Linked DNA regions of Homo sapiens: region 2 is linked to region 1. The links are contacts of gene promoters, found by promoter capture Hi-C in human tissues and cell types (Jung and others, 2019). All regions are on one chromosome and are shown on one strand. Each heading gives the region's core, a stretch centred on a gene start or on the middle of the fragment in contact. The rest is flanking DNA. Distances are from core to core; before and after follow the strand shown. Region 1 holds the start of CENPV (centromere protein V). Region 2 overlaps LRRC75A (leucine rich repeat containing 75A).

The links. Contacts are between HindIII fragments. The study calls those that stand out against the background at their distance.
Region 2: a contact is called between a fragment that was not itself captured here and the fragment with the promoter of CENPV in region 1, in 4 of the 25 tissues and cell types used here (aorta, hippocampus, neural progenitor cells and 1 more).

Annotation. Positions count from the first base shown.
Region 1 is chr17:16,350,585-16,355,737 of GRCh38, reverse strand. CENPV (centromere protein V) reads left to right here and starts at 2,269. Exons shown (of 5, transcript NM_181716.3): 1 at 2,269-2,711. The coding sequence starts at 2,302. RefSeq lists silencers at 2,060-2,209, 2,270-2,879. The HindIII fragment of the contact is 38,840 bases long and covers 1-3,576 here.
Region 2 is chr17:16,452,144-16,457,512 of GRCh38, reverse strand. The region is part of intron 2 of LRRC75A (leucine rich repeat containing 75A); the gene reads left to right. The region is part of intron 3 of SNHG29 (small nucleolar RNA host gene 29); the gene reads right to left. Among named protein-coding and RNA genes, the nearest start is that of SNORD65, 14 kb to the right of the region's middle. RefSeq lists enhancers at 131-630, 631-1,132. The HindIII fragment of the contact is 8,128 bases long and covers 1-5,369 here.

The sequences.
Region 1 (5,153 bases), core at 1,020-3,519:
CACCCAGATCAAGATAATGTAGAGAACATATCCAGTATCTTTTTTTTTCTTTGAGACGGAGTCTTACTCTGTTGCCCAGGTTGGAGTGCAATGGTGCAACCTCCGGCTCACTACAACCGCCACCTCCTGAATTCAAGCGATTCTCCTGTCTCAGCCTCCCGAGTAGCTGGGATTACAGGTGCCTGCCAGCATGCCCAGCTAGTTTTTGTATTTCTAGTAGAGACAGGGTTTCCCCATGTTGGCCAGGCTGGTTTCAAACTCCTGCCCACCTCCGCCTCCCAAAGTGCTGGGATTACAGGCATGAGCCACTGTGCCTGGCCATATCCAGCATCTTAGAAGAGTCCTTTGTTCTCTTTCCCAGTTAGTTCTCCTCAAGGATAACCACTCCCCACACCCAGCTTTTTTTTTTTTTTTTTTTTTTTGAGACAAGGTCTCACTCTGTCACCCAGAGTAGAATATGGTGGTGTAATCACAGCTCACCGCAGCTTCCACCTCCTGGTCTCAAACTCCTGGGCTCAAGCGATCTGAGCACCTCGGCCTCCCAATAGTGTTGGGATTAGGCATGAGCCACTGCGCCCGGCCTACGTGCCGTTTTAAAATGATGTTCAAGAATAAGCAAAACCAACCTATGGTGGTAAAAGAACAGTGATCGCCTCTGTTTTCTTTTGCCTGAGGGAAACTCTGGTGTGCTGAAAATGTTCTGTATCTGAAGTGGTGGTGGTCACATAAGCTGTACATCTAAGATATTTGCACGTTGCTGTGTGTAAACCATAATTCCAACAACAACAACGACAAAATGGCAAGGTGGGGCTCGGTGGCTCACGCCTGTAATCCCAACACTTGGGGAGAACTAGGCGGGAGGATCGCTTGAGGCCAGGAGTTAGAGACCAGCCTGGGCAACATAGGGAAACCCGGTATCTACAAAACAACAATAGCAACAATTCGCTGGGGCGGGGGGGGGGGGGGGGGGGCGCCGCCTGTTGTTCCAGCTACTCAGCTACTCCAGAGGCCCAGGCGGCAGGATCGCTTGAGGCCAGGAGTTCTTGGCTACACTGAGCCGAGATCCCGCTACTGCACTCCAGTCTGTCAGATCCTGTATGGAAAAAAAAAAAAAAAGACAAAATAGTTAAACTATGCCTTTAATTCAATAAACTATTAAACTAACAATACCATGAAGAAAATCAGAATAAAGAAGAAAGATAGGCTGACGCAGGAGAATCGCTGGAACGGTGAGGCGGAGGTTGCGTGAACCGAGATCGCGCCACTGCACTCCAGCCTGGCGACAGAGTGAGACTCCAAAAAAGAAAAAAAAAAAAAAAAAAAAAAGAAAGATAGGCTGGGCCCGGTGGCTCAGGCCTGTAATCCCAGCGCTTTGGGAGGCCGAGGCGGATGGATCACCTGAGGTCGGGAGTATTCGGCACCAGCCTGACCAACATGGTGAAACCCCGTCTCTACTAAAAATACAAAATTAGCCGGGTGTGGTGGCGAATGCCTGTAATCCCAGCTACTCAGGAGGCTGAGGCAGGAGAATCGCTTGAACCTGGGAGGCGGAGGTTGCGGTGAGGCGAGATCGCGTCACTGCACTCCAGCCTGGGCAACAAGAGCGAAACTCGGTCTGAAAAAAGAAGAAGAAGGAGAAGGAGAAGAAGACTATCTGGGTTCCATCAACGATTCTCGTGCCTTTTGTCTTTAAACTTTGGTGCTGCCTTCATCAAAATCATACTAATGAAATTCGACGCGCGGGTCATTCATTTAATTAAAATGAAACCCCAAATCTGTTGACTATTGGTATCCTCATGACACTGTTCTATAATGTGACAGAAAAGACGAAGGTGAAGAACTATGGTTTCGGCCGCTGTTACACAGGAGGTAGCAGGTGGCAGGCCGTTTACACAAATTAGCTCGTTTTTGGAGACGAAGTTACCCCAGGCTGCCCGCTCGGATGAGCCTGCGAATTCAGGCCCAACCCAGGCCCCTCCAGGTCGGGAAGGTACGAAGAGCCCGCTGGATTCACACAGGGCAGGGGCGCCTTCGCAGGTGCGAGTGGATTCTGGGTATCGCGAGCGTAGGCCCAGGCGCAGCCCCTCTGCCTGCGGGACTGAACAGGCAGGTGCGTCCCAGCGGCCGGGCGGGCCGGGTCTCCCTCCTGCGGGCAGGCGCCGCGCTGCGGGGCGCGGCTGGCGGAGCGGGGCAGCCGGGCGCAGCGCCCCCTGGGCCTGAAGACTGGCGGGCGGCGGGGGCGCGCGCAGGCCGGCGGGGGCGCGCCGCGCTGCGAGGCCTGCGCGCCAGGCTGCGGGAGCCATGCGGCGATCGAGGAGCTCTGCGGCCGCCAAGCTGCGCGGGCAGAAGCGGTCCGGGGCCTCCGCGGCCCCCGCGGCCTCCGCGGCCGCTGCCTTGGCACCCAGCGCCACCCGCACACGGCGCTCCGCTAGCCAGGCCGGGAGCAAGAGCCAGGCGGTGGAGAAGCCGCCGTCGGAGAAGCCGCGGCTGAGGCGCTCGTCGCCGCGGGCCCAGGAGGAGGGCCCGGGGGAGCCGCCGCCGCCTGAGCTGGCGTTGCTCCCGCCACCGCCGCCGCCGCCGCCGACTCCCGCGACCCCGACGTCCTCGGCGTCCAACCTGGACCTGGGCGAGCAGCGGGAGCGCTGGGAGACGTTCCAGAAGCGGCAGAAGCTTACCTCCGAGGGTGCCGCCAAGCTCCTGCTAGACACCTTGTGAGTGCGGCGGGCCGGGGGGCGCGGGAGCCGTTGCCACGCGGACCCCCTCGGCAGGAGTCGGGCTCGCAGCCCGCGTGCAGGCCTTGGGCGCCTTTCAGCTCTGAGCCTTCCACGTTACGGAGCCGACGCGGCTCCCCCGTTAGCACTGGGGTTATTCCTTAATTCTAAGGGCGGCGGGGCGGGGCGGTGCTTCTAGGGCTGTGTGGCCTGGGAATGGAAAGGGGGCTTCGTCCGGAGCTTGAGGGCGCGCGCAGCCGTCTTGGGACACAAAGAGTCTTTCCCGGCCATAAGCATCGTGCTCGGGGACGTTGTCTCTTGCTGGCGCGCAAAGGGTGTGGGGGCCTTTCTTAGTGAAAAGAACATAAATCCCACGGCTTTCTCTTACCCGAATCCCCTTTTTTTTTGTGTTTGCACACGTGTTTTTGAGGGTGGGTGGAAGGGAAAGGTAGAAGCGTTGAAGGAAGCATGAATAGTTTTGAACTCACTGGGAAGCAAAATCCCGTCATTGTTCCAGGCACTGCCAGGGAGGGAGCAGGGGGCGGAGGTTATTGATCCGGGAGAGAAGCGCGCGCGAAGAGATGCTCCGGCCTCGCGCGGCGGCGGGGATACCTACGTAGGGAGGCTTTTATGTGCTCAGCCAGCTAATGCTCCCTGCCGCTCGCCCTCCTGGCTGCTCCGCAGTCTTTTAGATGGCCCGAGGAGCATCTCGAGTGTCCGCGATTTGGGAAAGAGCTTTTAACTGGGCTGTTAAAGGGCTGCCTTCTTTTCTCCAAATGCGATCTGGATTCCTGCCTCGGGGAACAGTTGTGCTACAGAGAGATATTTTAACGCCCTGATATTATATTTCAGTGTCAATTTTACGAATTAAAAAGAACAATCAAAACACTAGGGGGAAAAAACCGACAAGAATAACCTAGCAATTGCATAACCTGAGAATTACTTCTTTTCTTGAACATGTTCCTTTGAGCTTCTTGCGGAAGAAATTCTCTTAGGATGAGTCGTCCCCGACAGAAGATACATATTTGGTTTTCTGTGTGCTTCACTTTTTGGTTTTTCATCTTGGACTGCACACTGAATTTTTAAAAAACGTTCATCCATCAAACATTTGAGCACCTATAGGGTGACGGCTGCCTCTGGGCAGAAGGAATACGAAGATCCTTAGGAATGTAAAACTCATGGTGTCTTCAAGGCATACAGAAAAAAAGAAGAATGTAAAACTCAAATTTGAGATAAATTTTTATTTTAAGACAAACTGATAAATGGTCAAGAAAAAGTTTTAAAATATTGACATAAAAAAGCTGTTTTTCTCCCACTAGATTGCCATGACTTTGTACTTATAAAGTCTACTAAATTATATTCAAAAAGTGTGTATAACTGTACCATTTTCGTTAAAATATTGTGTAGAAAAAAGTTTGGGGGAATATATAACAAATAATTAACTGTAGATCCCTCTGGGTGTAAAGATTACAGGAGGCTTTCACTTTGAGCACTCTCAAATAGTGTGAAGTTTGGAGTTTTTACAATAAGCATTATGTGTGCAGAAAAAATTAAAATACATAAACGTAAAGAAACATGAAAAAATGATCAGTCTTAATCATGCAAATTAAAACTGCAGTGAGCTATTTTTCCTATAATTATTGCCTGAGACTGTACAGTGAAATGTTTTCTCATTTATTTATCGGGTAAGGGTGTTCAATCCTTTTGGAAAGCGATTTTAAGACATTTATCAGATCTTAATGTTCATTTCTGAGTTTGGCTTATATATAAGCTTTAAAGGGTTAAAATTGTATGTAGGCTGGGTGAGGTGGCTCATGCCTGTAATCCCAGCACTTTGGGAGGCCGAGGCGGGTGGATCACCTGAGGTGGGGAGTTTGAGACTGCCTGACCAACATGGAGAAACCCCGTCTCTACTAAAAATACAAAATTAGCTGGGTGTGGTGGTGGGCGCCTGTAATCCCAGCTACTCGGGAGGCTGAGGCAGGAGAATCATTTGAACCCTGGAGGTGGAGGTTGCGGTGGGCTGAAATCGCGTCACTGCACTCCAGCCTGGGCAACAAGAATGAAACTCCCTCTCAAAAAAAAAAAATTCTATGTAATGTGTATTACAACTATGTAAAACGCATGTGTATGAAGAATACTGGAAAGAAATAGAGCAAAAATATAAGAGCCTTTATTAAGTTTCTCAAAAGGCTCTTCTGGACCTCTGGACTTGATTGAGTACACAGTCTTATTTTTCATAGCAGCCTGTACCTCCTTTATCACAATCATAATTAATTATTATTTGAGTAAATTGTTAAGGTCGGTAAGGGTAGCAATCGTGTCTGCTGTATCTTGTTTAGTGTTCTCTCCTTCGTGCCTAGCTCATAAAAATATTTAGTATTTGAGGCCCGGAGCAGTGGCTCACGCCTGTAATCCCAGCACTTTGGGAGTCCCCGTGGG
Region 2 (5,369 bases), core at 519-3,018, 100 kb before region 1:
TGCACATGCCGAAGTGGGGGAATCAGAATAAACTCCCCCATCCGTCTCTCCTCCTGCCCTCTGGTCTTGCTGCCATTGCTCCCATTAGCTGAACCCAAGTGGAAGCCAGGGGGAAGAGAGCCCAGTGATGCAGTCTCTAGAGCCCAGCCTTCTGAGCAGAGAAGGGCAGAGTGGACTGTGGGGCAAGAGGAAACAGAAAAGCCGGCACACAGTCTCTGCATCTGGAATGGTGTCCAGTGTAATGAGGGGGACAGTCAACATTTGATGAATGTATGAATGAATTTATGGATGAGGGAGGGATAGCCTTGAATGGAGGGCAGTGGAGGGCTGTGCTTGTCGGGGTCCTGGAGCAGTTACAGAGGTGCCTGGGGAGTGAAGATGGCAGATGGTATCACTGCCTGATGGCTGAGAGCCAGAGCAGTGTCGGGTGCTGGTACCCCTCCCAGGTCAGCCTGCAGGTCAGCACGTCATCTTTCCTGACAGATTAATGAGAAGCCCCTCAAACACGTTCTGCCCCAGGACCTGGGCAGCCTCACTGGGAAGGTCTGGAGAGGCTGCTGCCCTGACCTGCACTCATAGTCACTTGACTGTGCCACATCCCACTCCTGCCATCTTCAGGGATCGGGGGAGGACTGCAAAGCATTGATTCAGCACACAGCCATTGAGCCTTCTGGGCGGGTTAGGATTCTGCTGCACATAACAGAAGCCCAGGCGGGCTGGCTCCAGCAAGGAAGAAAATGTGTTCTACAGATATCGAGGTGTCTTGTGGTGCCCACGGGCAGCCAAGTTAGACCAAGGTGCTAGAACTATAGATAAGCACGGTGCAGAGGTCCCTCCTTCCCTCCTCGCTGCTCTACCCTGCCTCCCTCTGTGTTCCCTCTGCACAGACTGCTCTTCCCCCTGCCGCATGGTAGGGAATGTGGCTAGCTATGGCTCCCAGGTTACTTCTCAGGGTTCCAGCCACTGGAGGAGTTAGGGTATGTGTGTCTCAGTGTCAAGTCCAGCTTCCTCCTCCTCTTCCTCTTCCTCCTCCTCTTCTTTCTCCTTCTCCTCTTCTTCCTCTTCCTCCTCCTCTTCCTTCTTCTGCTCCTCTTCCTCCTCCTCCTCTTCCTCCTTTTCCTTCTTCTCTTCCTCCTCCTCTTCCTTCTCTTCCTCCTCCTCTTCCTTCTCTTCCTCCTCCTCTTCCTTCTTCTCCTCTTCCTCCTCCTCCTCTTCCTTCTCTTCCTCCTCCTCTTCCTCCTCCTCCTCTTCCTGATCCTCTTCCTTCTTCTCCTCCTTTCTCCTCTTCTTCCTCCTCTTCCTCCTCCTCTTCCTCCTCCTTCCTCCTCTTCCTCCTCCTACCCCTCCTCTTCCTCCTCCTCTCCCTCCTCTTCCTCCTCCTCCTACTACTGCTACTCCTCCTCCTCCCCCTCCCCTTCCTCCTCCTCCTCTCCCTCTTCCTCTTCCTCCTTCTCCTCCTCTCCCTCCCCCCGTTCCCCACCTTCTTACTGCTCCACTTCTGGGCCAGTGCTGCCTAGTCCTGTTCTCTGCAGGAGGGAGCCCTGGAGGGGTTCTTTGAAAAGTGGAAGAGTTGGGAAAAAATGAGACAGTCTCACTGAAGGCTTTTCTGGTTGTAAATGATAGAAACACTTTGAACTGACCTAAGCCAAAGACAGGATTTCTCACAAGGAGGGCAGCAGATAGCGGTTAGGAGCATCAGCCTCAGAGCTGGCTGACTTTAGATCCTGACTCCGTCTTACAAGCTGGGAGGCCTTGCCCATCTATTTAAGTTCTTTTTGCCTCAGTTCCCTCATTTGTAAAGCGGGGTTATTAATAATACCTGTCTCATAGGGTTGTAGTAAGGTATGGGACTATAGTTTGTAGGGCACTTAGGGAGGTCGAGGCAGGTGGACCACTTGAGGTCAGGATTTGAGACCAGCCTGACCAACATGGTGAAACCCCGTCTCTAATAGAAATACAAAAAAAATTAGCCGGGCATGGATGGCGGGTGCCTGTAGTCCCAGCTACTCGGGAGGCTGAAGCAAGAGAACCGCTTGAATCTGGGAGATGGAGGTTGCATTGAGCTGAGATTGCGCCACTGCACTCCAGCCGGGCGACAGAGCAAGACTCCGTCTAAAAAAAAAAATTGTAGGGCAGAACTGTGTGGTACTTTTCCCTCACTCATTATAAGGGTCATGGCTGACACTCCTATAACCAGACACAGGGTAACAAAAAAGCAGAACAAATGTGTTTAATCAAAATTTTACGCAACATGGGAGCTTTCAGAAATGAAGACGCTCAGGTGAGGCACGGTGGCTCACACCTGTAATACCAGCACTTTGGGAGGCCGAGGCAGGCGGATCGTCTGAGGTCAGGAGTTCAAGACCAACCTGGCCAACATAGTGAAACCCTGTCTCTACTAAAAATACAAAAATTAGCTGGGCGTGGTGGCACGCGCCTGTAATCCCAGCTACTCGGGAGGCTAAGCCAGGAGAATCACTTGAACCTGGGAGACGGAGGTTGCAATGAGCTGAGATGGTGCCACTGTACTCCAGCCTGAGGGCGGGGACAGAGCAAGACTCCGTCACTAAAAAAAAAAAAGAAAAGAAAAGAAAAGAAAAGAAATGAGGACCCTTAGCCCCAGCTACCTGGGAGGCTGATACAGGAGGATTACATGAGTCCAGGAATTCAATACCAGCAAGGCCAATATAGTGAGACCCCCATCTCTTTAAAAAAAGAAAGAAATGAAGACCCCAAACCCCAGGGAAAGAGGTTTTTTTGTTTTTTTGGTTTTTTGTTTGTTAGAATTTGTTTATTTTAATTATATTTATTTATTTATTTTAAAACGGAATTTTGCTCTTGTTGCCCGGGCTGGAGTGCAGTGGCGTGATCTCGGCCCACCTCAACCTCTGCCTCCTGGGTTCACGCGATTCTCCTGCCTCAGCCTTCCGAGCAGCTGGGATTACAGACATGCACCACCATGCCTGGCTAATTTTGTATTTTCAGTAGAGATGGGGTTTCTCCATGTTGGTCAGGCTGGTCTCAAACTCCCAACCTCAGGTGATCCGCCCCCCTCTGCCTCCCAAAGTGCTGGGATTACAGGCATGAGCCACCACGCCTGGCCTGTTTGTTTGTTTGTTTTTTGACAGAGTCTCACTCTGTTGCCCAGGCTGGAGTGCAATGACGTGATCTCGGCTCACTGGACCCTCCACCTCCTGGGTTCAAGCAACTCTCCTGCCTCAGCCTACCAAGTAGCTGGGACTACAGGTGCCCGCCACCATGCCTAGCTAATTTTTTGTATTTTTAGTAGAGATGGAGTTTCGCCGTGTTGGCCAGGCTAGTCTCGAACTCCTGACCTCAGGTGATCCACCCACCTCGGCCTCCCAAAGTGCTGGGATTACAGGCGTGAGCCACCACACTCAGCCAGCTATCTGTTTTTATACTCAGGCTTGGTAAAGAGTGCACAAGCTTGTAGAAATGCGATTGGACAAAGGGTGTGATCTAATGGTGATAGGCCGAGGGGACCCAGGAAGGCTATCTGCTCAGATTCTTCTTGGCCTCTCTCTGCAGTGTTCCTTCCTACCCCTCTGGAATGGTCTTCAAGACAGAAGGGAGAGAGTGACCTGCCTAGTTTTATGGCTTGCTTTGAGGGAGAGGGGTTCTGGTCTCTGTGACCTGCCTTGGGGAAGAAGAATTCTGGTTTCTCTGACTCACTCTGGGGGAGAAGAAGGGCCAGAGACAGGAGGGCAGCAGAAGGGCAGAAAAACTTTGCTTCTGAGGCCTTCCAATTTCCGTTAGTTCAAAGCTCTCTGCTGGCCCCGGCGCCATGCTTTGGAATTGTGTTCTGAGCCCCAAAATGTTCATGCAAACAGTGCTCAGAGGAGATGCCCAATGCATCGCAGCTGCTCAATACATGTTAGCTGTTGTCAGTTTAGTTCAGACAAGCAGAAGGGAACTCTCACTCCTGAGAGAACATCAGCTCACTTGTGCTCTCAAGGCAACTCTATGAGGTGTCCATATCTATTGTTCCTGTCTAGCCAGTGAGGAGACGCAGGCTCCTCAGTTCTCCCTGGTAGTGGCAGATACACTTCCATCCCGAGCCTGGCCCTGTGCGTGGCTGCCCCCTTGTGGCAATGGCAGTGCAGTGATGCCCCCTTGTCCTCTGTTCTCGTGTGTGTGTGTGTGCGTGTGCGTGTGTGCGTGTGCGTGTGTGCGTGTGTGCGTGTGTGTGTGTGTTTAGGAGTCCCACACCAGTCCCACTCTGGCGCCCAGGCCAGAGTTCAGTGGCGCGATCTCGGCTCACTGCAACCTCCACCTCCCGGGTTCAAGCGATTCTCCTGCCACAGCCTCCCAAGTAGCTGGGACTACAGGCACCCACGACTACGCCTGGCTAATTTTTGTATTTTTAGTAGAGATGGGGTTTCACCATATTGGACAGGCTGGTGTCGAACTCCTGACCTTGTGATCCGCCTGCCTCGGCCTCCCAAAGTGCTGGGATTACAGGCGTGAACTACCGCGCCCGGCCTCTATTCTCTTCTTTTAAGGCTCAGCTGCCCAGGCTGAGAGGGTGGACAGGGATTTTGGCCCCAGATTTTGGAAACCCTGGGAAGTGATTGAAGGAGGAGCTGCAGCTGAGGGGCTCAGTTCTAAGCTTTGGAGACTGGCTACATTCTGTCCTGGGGTGGTTCCAGGAGTGATGCTGGGCAGACCACCTGATCCCACCCATGGTCTTTGAACCAGTGCTTCTCCACCTCAGCTGCACTAGGGAATCACCTGGGGACCTTTTAAAAATCCCCGTGTGGCCAGGCAGGGTGGCTCACACCTGTAATCCCAGCACTTTAGGAGGCTGAGGCGGGCAGATCACGAGGTCAGGAGTTCGAGACCAGGCTGGCCAACATGGTGAAACCCCATCTCTATTAAGATACAAAAAATTAGCGGGGTGTGGTGGCAGGCGTCTGTAATCAGCTACTTGGGAGGCTGAAGCAGGAGAATCGTTTGAACCTGGGAGATGGAGGTTGCAGTGAGCCAAGACCGCGCCACTGCACTCCAGCCTGGGCAACAGAGTGAGACTCCATCTCAAACAAAAAGAAAAAAAAAAAAATCCCTGTGCCTGAGCCACCCACCCATCATTGGGGTGGCCCAGGCATCAGTGTTATTTTGTTGTTGTTTGGTTTGGTTTGGTTTTTTGAGACTAGGTCTCACCCTGTCTGGAGTGCAGAGGTGTGATCACGGCTCACTGCAGCCTTCACTTTCGGGGCTCAAGAGCCTCCTACCTCAGCCTCCCGGGTAGCTGGGACTGCAGGCACATGCCACCATGATGGGCTTTTTTTTTTTTTTTTTTTTTTTTTGAGAGCAAGTCTCACTATATTGCCCAGGGTAGTCTTGAACTC